Linked DNA regions of Homo sapiens: regions 1 and 2 are each linked to region 3. Evidence: promoter capture Hi-C in 16 types of primary human blood cells and fetal thymus (Javierre and others, 2016). All regions are on one chromosome and are shown on one strand. The core of a region is centred on a gene start or on the middle of the fragment in contact, and the rest is flanking DNA. Distances in the headings are between cores, read along the strand shown. Region 1 has its middle 14 kb from the start of SMIM2-AS1. Region 2 has its middle 31 kb from the start of NRAD1. Region 3 holds the start of SERP2 (stress associated endoplasmic reticulum protein family member 2).

Region 1 (3,098 bases), core at 366-2,865, 280 kb before region 3:
AAACAAACAAAAAACAAGGCTTTAGAAAAGGAAAGAACACTTGGAAGAACGTGAAGTGGGTGATGTGAAGAACAAGACTTAGATTATTCCAGATTGTGGGTGAACAACAAGTGTGGTGTTTAACCATGATCCTAGGACTTTATAGGCTGCCATCTTGCATCCCTTTCCCGTGATTTTTCTCTTGAGGTGAGCTGCCCACATGTGTAGTACCCTCCTTACCCTTGGGAAGTGAGCACACACAGGGTGTTTAGGAAGTTGTATGCATGGCCATCTGAGGCTTTCTTCCCTTTTCTAGTGGAGTGCCCCCAGAAGGTCATATTCTACCATTTTGTCTCTTAATGCGTATGCCCAGGAAGTTGCTTCTCCCTGACATCGGCATTCAATGAACACTTTAATGTTAACAGCTGTGGATCAGCTGGAGACTGTCTCTCCCCGGCTCTGGCCACATTTTTTAGAGAGGCAGTATGATAATTGTTGAACCATCACCTGACATTCCTAGTGGGTGGCAGAGAAAAGCCCTGTCTTGCCTCCCTCATGTCTATGTCTAACTACCTGCAACAAGAAGATAAAACGAGACCCCCAATGTCTTTGTTTCTGCTGACTGATAGCATCTTCAGACAGAACCATCCTTAGGCACATGCATTTTTACTATGAATGGTATATTAGGAATCGGGAGAGAATACAAGCTGAAGATGTAGAATGGGGACTTGTGACTTCAATAGAAAAGAATTGCTTCCATTTTTTAACATTGGGGGTTAGGATAGTTTTGCTTCTGTAGTATGTGCAACTGGGCTGTCAAGCCCAGTTGATTATTCCAGATTGTGGGGGAGAAGGAGGTCTTTACTTCCAAGAATTGTCTGAAAAACAGAGAACTCTCCCTGGAACATGATTTTTTAAAAGCCTTCTAGAAGGAAAAGACCTCTTTGGTGACATCAAAGGGCTTCCTCATTCTAATCCATAAAGAAGTTCAGTTGAAGTGAATAGAAGTTCCTCCATGGTCTGAGATTGTAACATTACTTTTTTTTCTCAACTATGTAGAAAGCAAAAAGTGATAATTTGGATTCTTTAATTTTTTAAGCACAAAAGTACTAAGTGCAGTGTTTCCTGACCCTTGCCTCTGAGTGGGTTAACGAGGTGAGGGCACTGGTGAGAAGGAGGTATATAGATTACTGTCTGTGACCAGGAAGTTCTCCATTCTGATAAGGCTGAATTTGATCATTCTATTAATAAATGCTGAAGTCTGGAATATGTCTTCTATTGTCCTATATTTGTTAAAATTGTTCATCTGTGCTCTCTTTCTACTCATGAAAATGACAGTGAAAAATAGCTGTCCATTAACACAAAAGCAAAATGTAATGCAGTAATGATGCTTGAAGCTTCCTGCAATGTTAGAGTTTTTAGAAATCATTAATAATAAATTACCAGCAATGCAACGGGCAGCTGATAACTCCTTTCTTTGGTAGGTAAAACTCTCCATTATAAAATAATAATACACTAAGTCATACGCCATAGCCTTCAGCAATTTTCTTAAAGTTATTTTACTTTAAGACCAGTGTTGCCAACATTGAATTCATTTTACAGATAAGGAAACTGAGGCTATTTTACCCAATGATAATGTCGGAATGAGTCAGACTATTGTAATTGAAATCACTAGCTTAGTTCCAGATTTAAATTAAGGCCTCTCACATATTTGTAAATGTGACAGGCACCAGTAGAGATCATTGGTTAATGAGTGGAGGTTGGAGTGGAGATAGGGTTCCATTAATCACAAACTCTAGGCCATAGTTCTCAATGTGTGGTTTGGGGCCATATGAGGAGTAAGAAAATGTACTCTTGGAGGAAAGGAAACAAACACAAAGCTTGCAAACAGGATGGCAAAACACTCTCGAGTCAAAGACCCTTGTTTATCAGCTCAAGGGCTCAATATTCAGTTATCAGTGTGTAGCAGGGTCCAAGGCATGCAGCAAGTCCAAACATGCTCTGAGATGCTTCTCTCCTCTCATTTCCCTTAGTTCCATTCAGCAATTATCCAAGAACCTGATGGCTTCCTCTTTATGACAGAGTCTGCAAGAATACAAAAAGGAAATAAAAATGGCCATCCAATTCACAGAGCCCACATCCAATTTCCAGAGCCCACAAAGAGGAACTTCATGAAGGATAGTTCTGTCTGGTGCTATCATCCAAGACTTTATCTTTGTAATATGTGAAATCAGTCTGTTAGATAAAGATTAGCTCACACACTCAGTTTTTTTTCTGAAGAAGAACTTGTAGGAAGGTGAATTCTAAAATACAAATTGTGTGACTTTTGGCAGGACACTTCCCTCTGTGCCTTTGCTTCCTTATAGATAATGGGAGGTGGAAGGATTAAAATAAGTCAGGATCCTAAATCACTGGCCCACCAGAGAGCAGTGGCTTAAGCACAATAGCTTAAGTTCCTCCCTGCTTCAAAATTTGTTGGTGCTTTTATGTTAAGCAGCATTGATATTAAGCAGTCATGGTTCATTGTTCCACCCAGTTCTAGGCTAGATATATATAGCCTGATACTTTATAGACTTCTAAGGGATGATCCTCAAACACATCAGAAATATAAGAAACCATAGAAATAAGTTCCTGAACATCTACCACTGCTTACGAAATAGTTGTAAATCATTTGTCTCCAACTATATTCTTCATATAGTTATAAAATTCAGGACTCTATTCCAAGTGAGGAAGCAGATCTTCTCTTCAGTTCTGCAACTGTTGAAACTTTAGGTAGACTCAATAATAATGACTTAGGGCAAAACCTTAAAATTCAAGCTCTTTTAAGGAAGAACACATAATTTTAACCACATAAACAATCTTACAATCCTCATTCAGATCAGATACCATAACACTTTCTTATCAGACCTTAATGAATAGAAATGCAATTTCTTATAACTTAAATTCTGAAAGAATTACGTGACATGAGACAGAAGAAGGAAAAATGTATTGAACAAAAAAAGCCTGATACATCCTCATAAAGTTATTGGTCAATATTCCAAAAAATAGAGAAATAATCATTAATATATGCCTTTTTTTTCTGGATATAAATAGACTTCACTTCAGGCTGTCATCTTCAC
Region 2 (3,265 bases), core at 598-3,097, 320 kb before region 3:
GTGACAGGGTGAGCCTCTGTCTCAGAAAACAAACAAACAAAAAAAACAGAATTGCATTCTGTACTCCTATCCAGTGTTATTTTGAGGATAAACTCTTAAAATTTATCTCACAGGGTAAAGTGTGTAAGAAAATTAAAAGGGGTAGTCAGGGACCTGAGGGCCATCAGCCAACACAAAGAAGAGTCTGAATTCTTAGAGCTGGTGAATGTTTAACATCTTGGCATTGTTCAGGGTTGCCCAAGTTTATTTAGTAAGTTCTTAAATAAATGGAGAAGAATGTTTTATTACTCTCATATAAATGGATTTAAAAGAGAGATCTAAAAAAGACAGTTTGTTTCAGCCAGAAAACAACTTCATTCATATTCTCATTGGTATTTCTCTCATCCATATCTAAAAACCAAAGCACTTCTCATGGATTTACATAGTCTGTCTTTTGAGATAAATGGTCATTAGATGACAATTTAGAGAGAAAAGGAGTGAGGTGAAAGAGATTGTTTTGAGAGTATCCTTTTTAGGCAATAACATGCATACTAGGAATGAAAAATTAATTTTAAGACAGTGGTTTTAAGATTTCTTAATCCATATTTGAGTAGTATATTTTAGGAAGTATATACACACATATGATATTTTACTGCACAGCCTCTGGGTTTTCTGAGGCCCTGGCTTAACCCTTTTCTAGTTGCCATGGCTACGAGGACACAAATACAACATCCATACCATGAGCTGGATCTATGAGGAAGAATTTCCAACTGTATACATAGTATGTGTATTTGACCCAAGCTTTTCAGAAAGAATTTGACACAATTTTAAATGTAGTAAATTGTCTGTGTGAGTCATACAATGGAAATAGCGTATGCAGCTAGGAAAATGTAGTCTCATAAATGAACCAAGGGGAAAATAACATTGGAACCCCGTTCTCTCTAAAACCTCCATCTTGCCTTCCCTCATCTCTTCCTGATGTAAAGAATGTCATAGAAAACTTGAAGAAAATCATTCTAAGCTTTTATTTTTTTCTTTTTAAAGTTCAAGCCTAAAATAAATGATTATTTTCAAGCAAATCATAAATCTGTAATCTGAGATACTGGTCTTGCAAAAACACTTCAACGCTTCCAATTACTGGCTGTAAACTGCTTTTCTAAAAACCCTCTTAAATGTTCACTCTGCATTCTGAAAGAAGAACACAGACTGAAATTTCATCGCCATTTGCTCTGATTCCTAACTAAGGTGCTCCTCACACAGAATCTCCAGGAAGCAGAGATGGATGGGTAGATTTTACAATGGAGAGAGGACCGGTCCACTCTCAAAGTTCCATCCTGGACATTGAATAGCATCTTGGGAGGAACCAAAATGGGATCCCACTCTGGGTAAGACATGATAACACCAGCAGTGAGATTCCTGTGGATAGGGGAGTTTTCTTGGGCAGGGGTGAAGAGATACAGAAGAAAAGCAGGGAAGTGTGAATGCTAGGGATACAAAGAGAAGCCCCGGCAGGGAGCCTCACACAGATGCTTAATAAATGCTTTTTGATTTGACTGAATGATCAAAGTGTGGTGTTAGCGTCAAGCAGTCTTAGCACCATCGCATATAAATGCCTTTGGCAATCCACATGTCGGTTTATCTGGGGGCGGGGGTCAGGCTGTCGGAAGGGATGCTGTGCCCTTGCTTGATGTGAGTGGGCAGCCAGGGCCAGCCGTGGGAAGGGATTGAATCGTGGCGTCCTGTTCTTGCAACAGCCACATTCCTCATCGGAAGCTTGTACTGAGTGTTTGTCCTGCAAGCAGGAGCAGTCTGGGTGCATTTTTGAGATTCTGTGGGAGTTGCTGCAACTCAGACCCTCGGTTTTCTGATGTCCAAAAGAAGGGCGATAGTAAACAAGTAATAAGTAATAGTATTTGTTTATGTACATAACTTAACTCATAAAATCGTGCGATGATTTTAAAAAAAAGCTTTAAACAGCAGATATAAAAAGATAAGGTCCTTTTCATCAGAGGGTCCTGCTAGAATCTTTTCAGGAGGTAGGAGGCGGCATAGCTGAGTGGAAAGAATGTTGACCTGATGGGCCAGAGAAACAAATTCATTTCCCAGTTGAGCATAAACAGTTGTGAGACCTTGAGCCTCTCAGCCTTTCTGGGTTCCAACTTTCTCATCTGCAAATTTAAGGTGCTGGTCTAGAAGATCTTCCACTTCATGTTTTATTATCCTACAGAGAATTAAGAAAGGAATTGAGAGCCTAGTTTCCCTGGGGAGGTCAGTTTTACTTCTGAGGCCCTCAGATAGCCCTCTAGACGTCTGGCTAAAGGACAGAGGCATTTACATTCACATTTTCAGGTTGTATTTGGGAAATCGGACTAAGGAACAATACATTTCACATGCTCAGAAGCACAACCCCAGGTTAAGAAGGAGAGGAAGGCACTGCCTTACAGCAAACATCCACCTTATCTCGACCCCTAACCTCTCCTGGCCACATACCCCTGTCTAGATGAGCCACTCGGGATGGCCAGTGACCAAATAGCATGTGCAAAAGGAGTGGGGACTGGTGGGTAGTGGGGAGGAGAAAGAGAGAAAAGACTTTTCTGGACCCGTGGTAAATATGATTTCCTTGGTACTGAATGGAAAAGAATAAGCACTGCTTTTGATTACTCAAGTCCAACTTTCAAGAGTTTCAACAACTTCAGTGGGAAAAAGTATGCATATGTGTGTATGTATGTAATGTATGTATATATGTGTGTATATGCATATACATGCACAGACATATGTATACACAACACATAAATACATATGTGTGCAAAGCATATATATATACACATACACCTGTATGTTTATAAATTTATATTAAAAATCTTAGGAATGGCCTCATCTTCTCACCAGTGGTCTCTTCTCTCTGTTTCTACATCTTAGTCTCTCCCCATAAGACATATACCCAGTGAAATTCAGACTGAAATGTACAGAACTCTCTTCTAGATATTCTTCTTGGTGCAAACACTCCCTCGGTCCATATCCCTGTCCTTGTGCCCCCATCATCATAAAAAACAGGGACAGAATTTGAGAATTCTAACAGTTTGGGAAACTGTAAATGCCCACCCTTTTTGCATTTGCCACTGTTTCCATGACAAATTTTTTTCTCAGGAGAAAAGAACATTTCTAAAAGATCAAAATTAAATCACTTTGCAGACTCAAAAAAGGATGGTGGCTCTGGGGAAGTATTAACATGAAATAACACTATTTGTATCTAAAATCATTTATACCATGCATAAAATTCTCCCAG
Region 3 (2,945 bases), core at 335-2,834:
TCTGGACCACAGACAACAGCCAGGCTCAGCAGGGATCACTGAGGTAGGAATCCCCCCACCCAAACCCCTAAAAAAGAGCCAACAGTTATTAAAAACATGGGACTAGAGTGGGGCAGACTGGGTTTATGGTCCTGTTACAACAGTGGTGATGCTAACAGTTAAAAGACCATAGAAGCTTGTTTCAAATTAATTGGCCTGTAGAGTAGGAAAAAAAAAAAATGACTCTACTAATGATCCTAGGCAATTCTGTCTTCTAGGTTACAGCAAGCAGCCCCCAGAATGGCCTTTATTGAAGCCTGAGTGACAAGAAGCCTGTAGCGGGGTGAGGGGGACCCGCTTGGAAAAAGGCCCCAAAAGAGGAGCTCTTCCTAACTCTCCAATGACATGGGAAAATTTTACTCACACAAAATTCCCTGGAAACCCAGCCACCTCCCGCTCCAAGAGAAGGCCTAGAGATGCAGTGGCCAGAGACAGCCTCAGGCCTTCTTCCCCATGCTGGGGGTGCTGCTGCTTGCCTTCACCCCGACCCGGTATCCCCACTTCCCGCTGCCCCAGATCTCCCAGGCTGAATGTCCCCTCTTCGCCTCCACTCTTCTGAGCTTCTAAGAGCTAACTCCAAGTGAGGAACTGAACCCCTTCCACCCCTACCTCCCCAGGCAATCTGTAGAGCTCTTGAGCCCTAATACCAGTGTCTGGGAGGCGCGTAAACGCTTCCATTTTTATCCTTCCACTGCAGAAAATGCCCAGTTTAGTCTGGGAGACACTCAGACCCCTCGGGACAAGGGTGGCTAGAGAGAGGTCCAAGCTGCCCTGGGTGGGTGGGGAGTCAAGGCAGGCCAAAGCTTCAGATTTAGACAGTAACCACCAAATCCGACCTGGGCTGCAGGTCCAAGGCCTCTTCCTCTTTCCTGCATGCTCCGCTCTGCCGCTGGCCCATCTTCCAATGCAACCCCTACAACTACCAAAGCAAAAAGGCCTGTCCCAACTCCATCCTCACGGCCCGATCCCCAACCCTCAGGGGATGCCGCTTCGTGTCTCCTCTTTATTTTACAACGCGGCCCTCCTTGCAGCCCTCACGAAAAGTTCTGCAGTGGGGTCCCCCAGCGTGGGGCCCTTCTCGAGACCCTTAAAGAGAAGGCTCGTTTGGTGGACCATACCCGGGCAGCGCGGGCCCGGGCCTGGACTGGTTCTACTTGTGTTCTGAGGTCCCTGACCACCGCCTTGGGTCCAGCCCTCGTCCAGGGGGCGGCGGTGCAGGGGAGACCGCGCGGCCCGGCCTGAAGCGCGGCCGCCCTCATCCCTTCCCCGGGGCTGGGGTGGGTCACCGGCCGACAAACACAGGAGGGGCCGCGTCCCCGTCCCCGACGCGCTCACAAACGCCGTGGTCGCCCGAACCTTCGGCCCCGCAGCATTCGGCTACAGGACCGCGACACTGCAGGGCCCCGGCTCTGCGCGCTGCGCTCCGGCCGCTCGGCGCGGGAGGACGTGCGGTCGCGCCTGCCTCGGTGGCCGCGCGGGGTAGGTGGCTGCGGGGACCGGAAGGATGGCGAGGAAGTCGGAAAGGGTTTCCTGAGATGAGAGATTACTTCCGTCCGGGCTGCGGCCTCTCTCTGGAGTCGGCTAGCCGGGGCTCGGGGAGCGGGGTGCGCAGGGCTCGGGGCCACGCCTTGCCACCTGCAGCGCCCGGGTGGGCCGCGGGGGCCTCGGCGGGACGCGCTCGGCCCTGTCGCAGGAGCTAACGCAGGGGGAATCCTTGCAGGTGGGAGCATTTCAGAGCGCACAAGCCATGGTGGCCAAACAGCGGATCCGGATGGCTAACGAGAAGCACAGCAAAAACATCACCCAGAGGGGGAACGTAGCCAAAACCCTGGTAAGGCGGGGTCGGCGCCGGCCAGGCAGAGCCCTGCAGCCCGGCGGGGTGGGGCGGAAGGTGGGGGCGGGGCCGGGCGGGTAGCGGCGCAGGGTCCGGCCTCCCGGCTCCCGGCCCGCCCCTTCTGCGGGGTCCTGCAGAGTGGGGGCTGAGAGCTGGGTTCAGGGCGGCGCGGTCTGCTTGGCGTCCTCGTGGGCGGAGAGGGCCCTGGTTGGTCGTGGCCCCTCTGGGAGTGGCTACCTGGGCTACCAGGGAGGCGCAGAGGAGCCCTCCTCCCCGACCCGCACCCCCTGTCCCCCTGCCCGGGAGACAGCTGGGCCTTGTCCCGGAGAAAGACGGAAAGCCTCATCCTTAGGGGCCAGTTAAGTCAACTGCATGACACAGAGCCTGGAACCTAGTATGTTCTAGAACGTTGCATGACACAGAGCCTGGAACCTAGTATGTTCTAGAACGTTTGTTGAATGAATGAATGAATCAATGGCTAAATGGAGGCCACTTGTCATCTCCTCCCGGACTCCACCTGTCTTCCCTCCCCAACAGACTTGCACCAGGATCAAGTTTTCTTTCCAGCCCCTTTGTGACGGTTTCACTGGAGGTGTGGAAAGAGCTCAAAATGGGGAGTGAGATTTGGACCCACATTCCCTCCAGCCTCTTTTTTCTCTTTTACCTCTCTTCCAGCGAGACCTCCCTCAGCCCCTAGGCTAAAGTCTAAGGGCAGCATTCCTATTCTTTCCACTTGGTGAATTCAGACTCATTCTCATGGTATAACTTTAGAGACCAGTTTATTGTCAGGCATTCGGTGTCCCTAGAACTGTAAATTCAAGCTTTGCAACTGGACTTTTAAGTAAAACCTGTGCCTTACACTCAGGAGTTTCTTTTAGCAAAGCAGATTATCATCAACAGAAAATGCGAGGCCTGTGACTTTGGACATTCAGAGGCATGAGTCGCATGGGTAGTTTGGCGAAGTTGGTCTCCAAGTATATGAGCAAAGGCGCCTGGGATCTGTTACCCCGTACAGTTAAGTGGAAATCCAGCTGAAGCCTGGAGTTTGGCTGGGAAAGCTTGCAGATTTGAT

The links. The method cuts DNA at HindIII sites, captures the fragments that hold promoters and counts their contacts. A CHiCAGO score of 5 or more calls a contact.
Region 1: a contact is called between a fragment that was not itself captured here and the fragment with the promoter of SERP2 in region 3, in 2 of 17 cell types (naive CD8 T cells and total CD8 T cells). The highest score is 5.8, in naive CD8 T cells.
Region 2: a contact is called between a fragment that was not itself captured here and the fragment with the promoter of SERP2 in region 3, in 10 of 17 cell types (naive B cells, total B cells, fetal thymus and 7 more). The highest score is 8.6, in naive B cells.

What each region holds. Positions count from the first base shown.
Region 1 is chr13:44,095,011-44,098,108 of GRCh38, forward strand. No RefSeq gene overlaps it. Among named protein-coding and RNA genes, the nearest start is that of SMIM2-AS1, 14 kb to the right of the region's middle. The HindIII fragment of the contact is 483 bases long and covers 1,375-1,857 here.
Region 2 is chr13:44,051,373-44,054,637 of GRCh38, forward strand. No RefSeq gene overlaps it. Among named protein-coding and RNA genes, the nearest start is that of NRAD1, 31 kb to the left of the region's middle. The HindIII fragment of the contact is 194 bases long and covers 1,751-1,944 here.
Region 3 is chr13:44,372,240-44,375,184 of GRCh38, forward strand. SERP2 (stress associated endoplasmic reticulum protein family member 2) reads left to right here and starts at 1,585. Exons shown (of 3, transcript NM_001010897.3): 1 at 1,585-1,870. The coding sequence starts at 1,787. It overlaps LOC105370297 (a long non-coding RNA gene), which reads right to left and starts at 1,327. Exons shown (of 2, transcript XR_001749858.3): 1 at 1,158-1,327; 2 at 1-958. The HindIII fragment of the contact is 1,852 bases long and covers 841-2,692 here.